Regions from separate parts of the Homo sapiens genome. Here all the other regions are linked to region 1. Evidence: promoter capture Hi-C in human tissues and cell types (Jung and others, 2019). All regions are on one chromosome and are shown on one strand. Each heading gives the region's core, a stretch centred on a gene start or on the middle of the fragment in contact. The rest is flanking DNA. Distances are from core to core; before and after follow the strand shown.

What was found. Contacts are between HindIII fragments. The study calls those that stand out against the background at their distance.
Region 2: a contact is called between a fragment that was not itself captured here and the fragment with the promoter of SLC24A2 in region 1, in 3 of the 25 tissues and cell types used here (bladder, dorsolateral prefrontal cortex and psoas muscle).
Region 3: a contact is called between a fragment that was not itself captured here and the fragment with the promoter of SLC24A2 in region 1, in 5 of the 25 tissues and cell types used here (H1 embryonic stem cells, aorta, dorsolateral prefrontal cortex and 2 more).

What each region holds. Positions count from the first base shown.
Region 1 is chr9:19,787,535-19,790,623 of GRCh38, reverse strand. It overlaps SLC24A2 (solute carrier family 24 member 2), which reads left to right and starts at 1,587. Exons shown (of 11, transcript NM_020344.4): 1 at 1,587-1,739. LOC124902128 (a long non-coding RNA gene) reads right to left here and starts at 1,465. Exons shown (of 2, transcript XR_007061432.1): 1 at 1,346-1,465. RefSeq lists an enhancer at 2,024-2,671. The HindIII fragment of the contact is 14,556 bases long and covers 1-3,089 here.
Region 2 is chr9:19,840,183-19,843,271 of GRCh38, reverse strand. It overlaps a transcript of SLC24A2 not described here. Among named protein-coding and RNA genes, the nearest start is that of SLC24A2, 53 kb to the right of the region's middle. The HindIII fragment of the contact is 5,030 bases long and covers 1-3,089 here.
Region 3 is chr9:19,753,719-19,756,807 of GRCh38, reverse strand. The region is part of intron 2 of SLC24A2 (solute carrier family 24 member 2); the gene reads left to right. Among named protein-coding and RNA genes, the nearest start is that of SLC24A2, 34 kb to the left of the region's middle. The HindIII fragment of the contact is 3,016 bases long and covers 149-3,089 here.

The DNA.
Region 1 (3,089 bases), core at 338-2,837:
GTTCAGTTGTTTTTAAAATATTATCAATTAATAGATATAATCATGTTTGATGTGTTTTAAACAATTGCGATTATCTTTTTTTTTTTTTTTTTTGATGCTCAAATTAGCCCGTCTTTGGTCAGTGACAGCCTATTTGAATTGTCCCCTTCTTGACACAACCCTAGTGGTAGTTGATAGTTTTCTTGCTTTCTGAAAATATTTACAGATAAAATGATATGATGCTCTGGGATTTGCTTCAAAATGATGACATAGGAAAAAGGGGTATAGATGAAATATGACTGTCCATGAGTTCATAATTGTTCAAGCTGGTTATGGCCCCATGGAGATTCATTATACTACTTTCTTACATTTGTATATGTTTGAAATTTTCTAAATTAAAAGTTAAAGATAAAAAAATTCAGTCAGGCACCTATAGTCTGCAAGCACTTGGGAGTCTGAGGCTGGAGGATGGCTAGAGCCCAGGAATTCAAGACAAGCTTGGGCAACATAGCAAGATTCAGTCTCGAAAGGAGAAAGAAAAAGAAAAGTTGAGTCTTGAATGCCTGGCTTTGATTGGGGGGTGGGGGGAAGAAAAATATTTCTAAGTTCCCTAGGCTTCCCTTTACTTATTGATGAGTAGGCCCAGAGGTCTGACTACAGAGCTGTACTCTAAGTCAGAGGTCATGAGCTCTCAGGATATACCCATTACCCCCATTGTAAGGAGGGCATGAAGAAACCCTCTTGGATGGGGGAGAGAACAGAAGGATGGAGGGTAAGGAGAGGGGAAAATGTGCGAAAAGCTTTCAGAGCTTCACGAGTTGGGTACCTCTTGGCAGCTTTGCTGGTGGTCACAGGGTTGGGTAAAAGGGGTTCCCTCACTACCAATTTGTCTTACCACCGTCTTCCATTCTTTGGCCCAGATTCTAGTCTCTCATCCCCAACAAGCCTGATTCTATTTCTTGTGGTCAAGGGGATCTTGCTTTCCAGATAGGACAGGAAGGAGCACTGGGCTGGACATCCCGAGGCCAAAAGCCGAAGCCTGTCAGTGATTCAAAATGACACGGGGTTTTGGGTCTCACTTTCATCACCCATGAAATGAAAGGTCACCCTGCAAGACTGAAGCCCCTGCAGTGTCCCAAGCATCCAAATCCAACACTCAAGAAACCCTGGACCCCAACAGCCTGTCCTGCAGGCCTCCGTGCCTTTTCATTGAACGTCTTTTCCACCATTACACATCACATCGCCTCCTAAAGAAAAGCGCGACTGCTATCACTTTTTGCAGATAATTGGAGAGGCGGTGCCCAGCATAAGATGACCCCAAAGTTGACAGCACTTTCAGGCTTTGTGAATTAGGCGCGTCACCGACCTGTACGATTTCTCCTCTCTGCCCTTGCTCGCCTGCAAATCCTGACCCCCGTCCACACTGCGGAGAAATCTCCTAAGAGACGGCTGCCAGCGTCGCCTCTGCGCCCAGGAGGCGTGGAGCAAAGGACTCGGGAGCTGAGCGCGCTGCGGCCCCGCTCCCAGCGCACAGCGCACAGCCCAGAGGGAGGGGCCGGCGGGGGCCGGGCAGCGCCAGACTCGGAGCGCCGGGCTCACAGCGGCTCAGTCTCCTCCCGAACCCAGCCCGGCTGGCGAGAGCGGCAGCCAGTGCGAGCCAGAGCCCGGGCCTCAGAGCGGGTAGGCGGAGGGCCGGCGGACTGGAGCGGCGGGCCGCGCTCGGGGGCCCCGCCGTGTGCGCGTCCTCCCATCTTATCCTGGTAAGTGCGGGCGGCTGCGCCCCGCCTGCCGCTGTAGCCGCTGTGGCGGTCGTCCCCGCATCCCGGTTGCGCGCATCCCGTTGCTGCTCTGCAGGCTCACAGGTGGCTCTGCCGTGGATGTGGGCGCCCCAGGCCCCGCTAGGAGTTAGCCAACTCTCTGTGCTCCGGGGCGTGGATTTGGAGCCCCCGCCTCTCCTACCCTTGCTTTTGGCTTGGGATGGGGGGCGTGGGGCAGGGCCTGCCGTCGGGGGAGACGCGCAGAGGGGCGCTTCCATTCCCCAGCCACCTACAAACGACTCAGGGGGATGCGGGCCAAGCGCCTCACCAAATGCAACCCAGCTCCAAGCTCACAGGTGGGGCGTCTGTCCTTTAGATTTATTTTCCTATTAATCCACCAGGGAAAGTTTGGGACCACGCAAGGCAAAGTTGGGGCGCGGCTGGGGGCGAACATTCTCCTACGGAGGCAGCTCCCGGGGAGACGAGCGGTGGGTTTTCAGGGGGAGCGAGGATCGGGCTGGAGATGACTTTGCGCCCGGGGAGTTGAATCTGTCCCTGCTGGTCGCCCGGGCCGGGCATTTACACAATCCCCTGAGTGCTGTGAATCGCTTAATCGTTCCTGCTAAGCGTTGACGTTCGCAGCCACCTGGGAATCTCCGTGATGGGGTCGGGTTATCTCAGGAGTAGCAGCAACTCAGCGGGGTTGATTTGTGCTCTTGCTTTGCTCTGAAAACCTGAGCTCCAGCTAATCTCAGTATTTAAGTGGCGTGTGTTTAATTAGCTTATTTTACACCTGAGATTATCTCAGCGACTGCCTCCAAAATGAAATCGTTGATATGGAAAAGAATAGTCTTTTTAAAGAAAAACTAAAAAGAGAACTCTTCAGAATATCAGCTGTCAAGTCTGGCTATTTTACCCATCTCCTCCGTGGGATAGAGAAAGAAAACTCTGCTTTGGATATCTAACCTATTAAAGTCAGTGGTGGGGCTATTTTGGGCAGATTTTGTGGACAGAGGTATTGCTACAACTTGCGTATTGTTTATGAAATACACATGTGGTCTCTCGAAATAGCCTACTTGTTATTTCACTGCATTGGGAGTTCTTTGACTTACTAAGCTGCCTATTTTAAATATGACTAAAGGTTGTTTTTTTAAAAAAAATATTTAGCTGAAAACAATGTCTAGATGTTTAGGGAAGGCAGCTTGTGCATGTCACCAGAATTTTTTTTTGTAAACTTAAATTTGTAAAGGACTACTTTCCCGCATCTGATAAAGGAGAGACTTTTTATGAAAAATAAGATCTGATATCATTATGTGTGCAGAAAAAAGATCACTAAATTAAAGAATCACTCAC
Region 2 (3,089 bases), core at 247-2,746, 53 kb before region 1:
CCTTGGCCTCCCAAAGTGTTGGGATTACAAGGCACAAGCCACTGCGCCTGGCCCAAAATTATTTTTTTTAAAGTATGAAGGGCACAATTTCAAGACAAAGGACACTCTTCTAACTAGAACATATTAGCTTTTTTAAAAAAAACCTGGCTGCATATCTTTATTTTTTCCCTTTTGCCCTAAACAGATGACAGCATTGTTCATGGACTGGCACCAGCACTTGAGAAACACTACCACGGGATATATACAGAAGTACAAAGACACAGTTCTGGCTTCAAATGACCCTACAATCAGCTGGGGGATATAAAATCTAAACATTGAAAACATAATAATTAAGTGATAATCCAACATTAGGAAAAACATTATAAAGTATAAAATCATTTATTATAGAAGGGAGAGATCCCCAGGAACTTGGGAGCTTAGTGGAAGCTTAGTGATCTGAGCTGTGTTTGAAGAATGGAGAGATATCAGAAATTTTAGAGGGGGACTGTCAGATAGAAGGACTGTGTAGAATAGATAAAAGCACAATATATACAATACAGCTATTGGTTCAGTAGCATAAAGCACTCAAAATTTCTAAGTTGTAGTTTCATATTTCAGTTTAGTGGAACCATTGTGTTCATTGGTGGGAACATCCCCCCCTTGGAGACTAAGGTCTCTAAACCAGTATAGCTCAAAGTTGCCAGGATAAGAAGCAGAATTTCTGTGAGTGAGATATTACTTGGAATTGTGAGAGTAGCCATTCCTACTTTCATCCCTTGATTTCTGGACCCATGTATTCTGGCCATGGGGACAGCAACATATAATAACCTCTGATTCAAAGCATAAATCGTTTCCTGTATAATAGAGCCCATTCTTTTCAAGTGTTGTCTCCTAACTACATCATAACTGAGTCTTCAGTAAGCCATTCTACCTTTCAGTTAAGCTAGCTGCTTCTGGATCATGGAGTATGTAGTAAGACCAGTTCATTCAACAGTTATGATCCCAGTGCTGCATTTCTTTTGTAGACAATTAGTTTATTGATCAGACTCAATACTGTACAGAAATCCATGATGATGGATAGGGCATTCTGAGGGTCCTTGGATGCGGTGCTGACAGAAGCATTATGAGCAGGAAATGTAAATTCTTATTTAGAATATGTATGCTTCCTAGGAAGATGAATCTCTGCCACTTCCATAATAGAAGATGTCTAATGTAATCAATCTGTCACCAGGTGACTGGTCAGTTCCCACAGGGAATGGTGGCATATCCAGGATTCCATCTTGGTATCTGCTGTTGGCAGATTGGATACTCAACAGTAATATTAGACAGATAATTCTTCATAAGGAGAAGTTCATGCTGTTAAGCCCATGCTTAGCCTCCATCCCTGCCACCATAGACACTTTATTCATGGGCCCAATAAGCACTAGGGTGGCTGGTGTTACTGATATCCACAGAATGAATAATTATGCCCCCCTGATTATTAAGAGTCTCCTCTGCAATGGATGCCTGTTGATGAGCATTGATATTGGGTACAAATATCTGCAGTCTGTGTCCATTCAGAGAGATCCAGCCATATACCTCTTCCCCAGACTTCCTTGTTACCAATATTCCAATCCTATTCAGTGTCCTCACTTGACAAAGCTTCAGTGTGACCTGGCAAGGAAAAACTATTTAAAGGGCACAGATCCAATTTCAAAGAACAGGCCAAAAAGGTGAATTAAGAGCTGAGAGGTAATAAATTGATAACTGGCATGTCATCCTACCTAGCACATTATGCCCTCCCCTAACCCATCATCTACCAATCCCTTTGAGGGGCACTTCACCTATGCACATTGAAAAGACCAGGTATGTGTCTGCCTGAAGGGTTTCACCTTGCTCTTCTTTTACCAAGGATGCTTCTTTCCCAGATATCCAGATGACTTGCCCCTCATCTCCTTCAGGTCTTTGCCCAAATGCCATCCCCTTAGTGATGGCATCCCTGGACACCTCACACTCCCTATTCCCCTTCTCTGCCTTATTTTACTCCATAACACTTATTGACATATAATGTTATATCTGTCTTACTTATTTTTAGTCTCTTCTCCAGAAAACAATCTCCACAAAAACAGAGATGCTTTTTTGTTCATTTTTGCATCCTCAGCATTTAAAATAATGCCTGGCTCAGAGTAAGCTCTTAATAAATACGTGTTTATTGAGTGGTTATAGAAAACTTAGATGTTCTTTGTGTTCATTTAAGCCAATGGTGATTGAAAAGTCTATGGTTCATAAAAAAAAACTATAAACCATCCAGCTGTTCATCAACAGGAAGATTGATATATATTCCCTTATGTACAATGGAAAATTACTCATCAATAAAAAGGAATTAACTCCTGATACACACAGCAACATGGATAATTCTTTAAAAAAATGTTGAGCAAAAGAAGCCAGTTTAAAGGTAAATGCTGTATGACTCCCTTTCTATAAAGTTCTGTAACTGGTAAAACTAACGTTAAGATGATAAAAATCAGAGAGAGGGGAAGGGAGCTCAAGGGTACCTTCTAGGGTGATAGAAATGTTGTATGCTTGATTGGGGTGGAGGTCACACAGAAATATGCGCTTGTCAAAACTCATTGAATGACACACTTAAAATAAATACATTTCATCCTATGTAAATTTTACCTCAATGAAAAACTGGATACCAATTTAAATGCAAAATAAATATAAAGTTACAAAACAATCTGTAATCCCAATTTGATGAATATCTGTTCATTAAACCAGAAGAAAAATTCAAGGTCATTCCCCAGAAATCAAGTCATAAAAGAGATTAGCTAAGGGCCCAGGAAAAGCTCCTGTATAGCTGAATAGGGAAATTGGGAAGTATTAAGTCTCTCCTCAAACATTTCGAATTAAGAGGCCTGTAGTTCCTCTTTCCATTTTTAGTGTGGGTTTTCTAATCCTGTTATTTCTCATTATGACTACTGCTGTTCAAGCCTGGGTACTGGTTTAATTCTAGAAAGAGTCGCAGTTATAAGGATCGTAAATTGTTGAAAGAGGCTACCTAGGGAAATAGTAGTGTTTACCTCCATTACTTTTAAAGAAAGTCTATGTACAGGAATACTGTTAAAAATGAG
Region 3 (3,089 bases), core at 407-2,906, 34 kb after region 1:
TGCTAGAGAAAGACTAGAGAAACATCATCTTTTTCCGATTGAAGTGAACAGACTTAAGTCAAAGTTTCTTTCAAAGAGCCTGGTCTGAAATGGAGCCAGACAAAATCTGGTTTTTAGCTCCAGAATAATCTGGAACTTTAGGATAATCAGTAGTGCTTCTCAAAGGTGAATTAGTTGTCACATAATTACATGACTGCCCAAGCAGAGAACCCAGCTGGGCCATGCTGGGCCTGGACTTCTGACAACAGAAACTGTAGGATAATATATAAATATTGTTGTCAGCATCAAATTTTGTGGTAATGTGTTAGAGCAGCAATAGAAAATTAATACACTCATGATAACAGCATTATATAAAAAGCTGTCCAAAAATGTTAGAATATCAATAGCTAAGCTTTGAATATTTGCAAAGAATCACCACAAAATATTTAAGCCTATGATTCTCTTCTTCTCAGAGTCCCTTTGGATTTATTTTCTTTCTTGCCATTTCTATAGTTTTTTTAAAACTCCTCTGCAGAAGGGCACATCCATTTGTTTATGGATTCATTCATCAAATATTTATTATATATCAACTATGTATGTGCCTGGCTGGGCATTTGGAGGTAAAATCTGATTTAGGAATGGTCATTTCACAGACATGAAAGCAGATCATTGTATACAGTTTCAGTGCTCAAATTTGAAGGTTATTGCTGGACACACAGGGCACTCAAAGCAGTTAGCAGGTAGCAGGTAACTTGGTGAATTTGCCATGGTCAGGAACCTGGCCCTCAGCCCAGTGGAATCATAAACCTGATCATGATAGCTCACTGCAAAGGGATTGTCTCTCCTAGGTGGACTTATGTGAACCAAGCTCATTATGACTGCTATATATTAATACAAATCCAATTACAGCCCATTGTAATACAATGAGAGCTACATCGCTAAAACCAAATGGAAAGGTAAAATCAGTGCCGTATCTGACTGTAGGTGAGTAAAATTATAATAACCAGGTGACAATCTATTAATTTACGATTAGGAATTAAACTGTGAAGTTGACTGTTCTGACTAGCACGTTGGCTGTCTACAGATAACAAACTAAGGAGCCAGATTATGGCATCGTAGTGGACTTAAGAAGTGTTGCTTTGCTAAAATAGCTTGATAGACTCTGACCCACAGCAGGGATGACCTTACTGAGGAAAATGGAGCATTTGCCCAGCCAAGATTTCCTCTATCCTTCAGCACCGTTGGACAGGCCTGGCCAACTCTTGCTGTAATTTCCCCTCTTTGTCATACTTCCACACCCGGCCACCTGTTTCACACTATTTCCGTAACACAGTACGGTAGATACAATTATGTTTTCACTTAATAAGTTTCAATTATTTTTTTCAGTTCTTCAAGGTTGCTCCCAAGTCACGTGGATTAGAATTTGGGGTGTTCTACTTTTTACTTATATGTGATAAACAGTCCTCTGGGTTTGTGCTCACAGAGAATTGATCAATGGGATAACTGCAATAATAGAAGTGTACAGAGGGTCCTATGAGAACTTAGGACAAGAAAAAACTAACATGTATTGAATTCCTACTAGGGACCAAGTACTTGGCAAGGATTCTACATGTATTATCTTATGTAATCCTGTAGTATCCCCATCATGTAAAAACTGGAGATTAAGGAACTTGCCCCTGGTTGCAAATCAAGCTAGAGGCGGGACCAGGATTTAAGCCCAGGCCATCTGAGCTCAGAGCTTATGTTCTTAACTGCTGTGCTCTCTTGCCTGCCTTTCATCTTTCAGTCTTTATACCTGCTCAGAAGGTTAGAGAGGTATATCAGTCTAGGCTCGGTTGCAGAAAATAGAAACCATCTTATTATTTTAAAGAGAGATCAGGTTTTAATGTAGGAATTGGATGCTTATAAAATCATTGAAAGGCCTGTGGAGCAGGCTAGGTCTCAGTGTGCTATGTCTCGGACCTCACTGTAAAACTGGTCTGCCTGAAGAGAGCTGCTTCTGCCTGTCGAGCAGGAGAGGAATCGGGATGCTGCCACTGGAACTGTGCATTTTGGCACAGTTTTGGTTCTCTAAAAGAAGCTTGGAGTTGCATTTTGGCACATACCACCACCAGGGCCCTGCCATTCAGTGCTTAGGATCCTAGTTACAAAACACCACAGGTTATTAAAAAAAAAAAAAAAATCCTCCCATGATTTCCAGGAGAAAGAGCAGAAACACAGCCTCTAACCTGACTTTCACCTTCTAAATCCAGCTTGAGAGTGTCTGATTGGCTGAACCTAAATAAACCCTGCACCCAGCTGCAAGGGCATCTGTACTGTCAGATTTCCAAGCCTCTGCAGATCAGGAAGGCATGCTAGAAGGAAAGTGGAATAGACACTGGGCACCAGTCCCGCTGTCATTGAAGAATTCAAGGCTCAAAGGTTCAGTTGAAGTGCTTAAGTTCACACAGTGAGAAATAGGGCTGGCCAGGCTGTCATGAGATTGTCATGCTCCAAGTCCTACGCTCTTCATGCCTTGGGGAAGGAGGATAGACGGGTGGCTTCAGGAAGAGACTGGCTCTTAGAAGAGTGGACTGTAGTCCTGGGGAGGCAATGAGTGGGGCAGGGCCTGTGGCTGCAGGCGGATCCTTTCTTCTACCCTGCCACTGAGGATGTGGCTCCTTTGACAGAATCTCTGAGGAATTCATTCAGTGGCTTACCTTGGTGAAAGCTGAGTAGTAAGCTTTTTTACCTTCATAGTGTAGTTTAAATTGTTAATGTTGTGGAAAGGATAGGAGTTTTTAAAATTTTTTTTAAGTGTGCTTTTTTGTATCCATGTTCAAATATGTAATCAGTCATTTTCATACCTTTGCTGCTAAAAATACTGCTTGGTTCTCTAAAAGAAGCTTGGAGTTTGATGCAGGTGGAAGGAGATGCTGCCAGATGCCAATTTTTGGAGCCAGAAAGTGCTTGTGGGTCTCATCCCCTGCCACTTTATGTGACAGAGAGAAATCTGAAGGAACTGCTGTGCTCTCCCTGTCCGATACATATCCAGGTGACACAGGATGCCCATCTGGTCCTTGGCTTGCTTTTCTCACTAGTACATACCTTTGGTGGGATGGTAGTTTTAA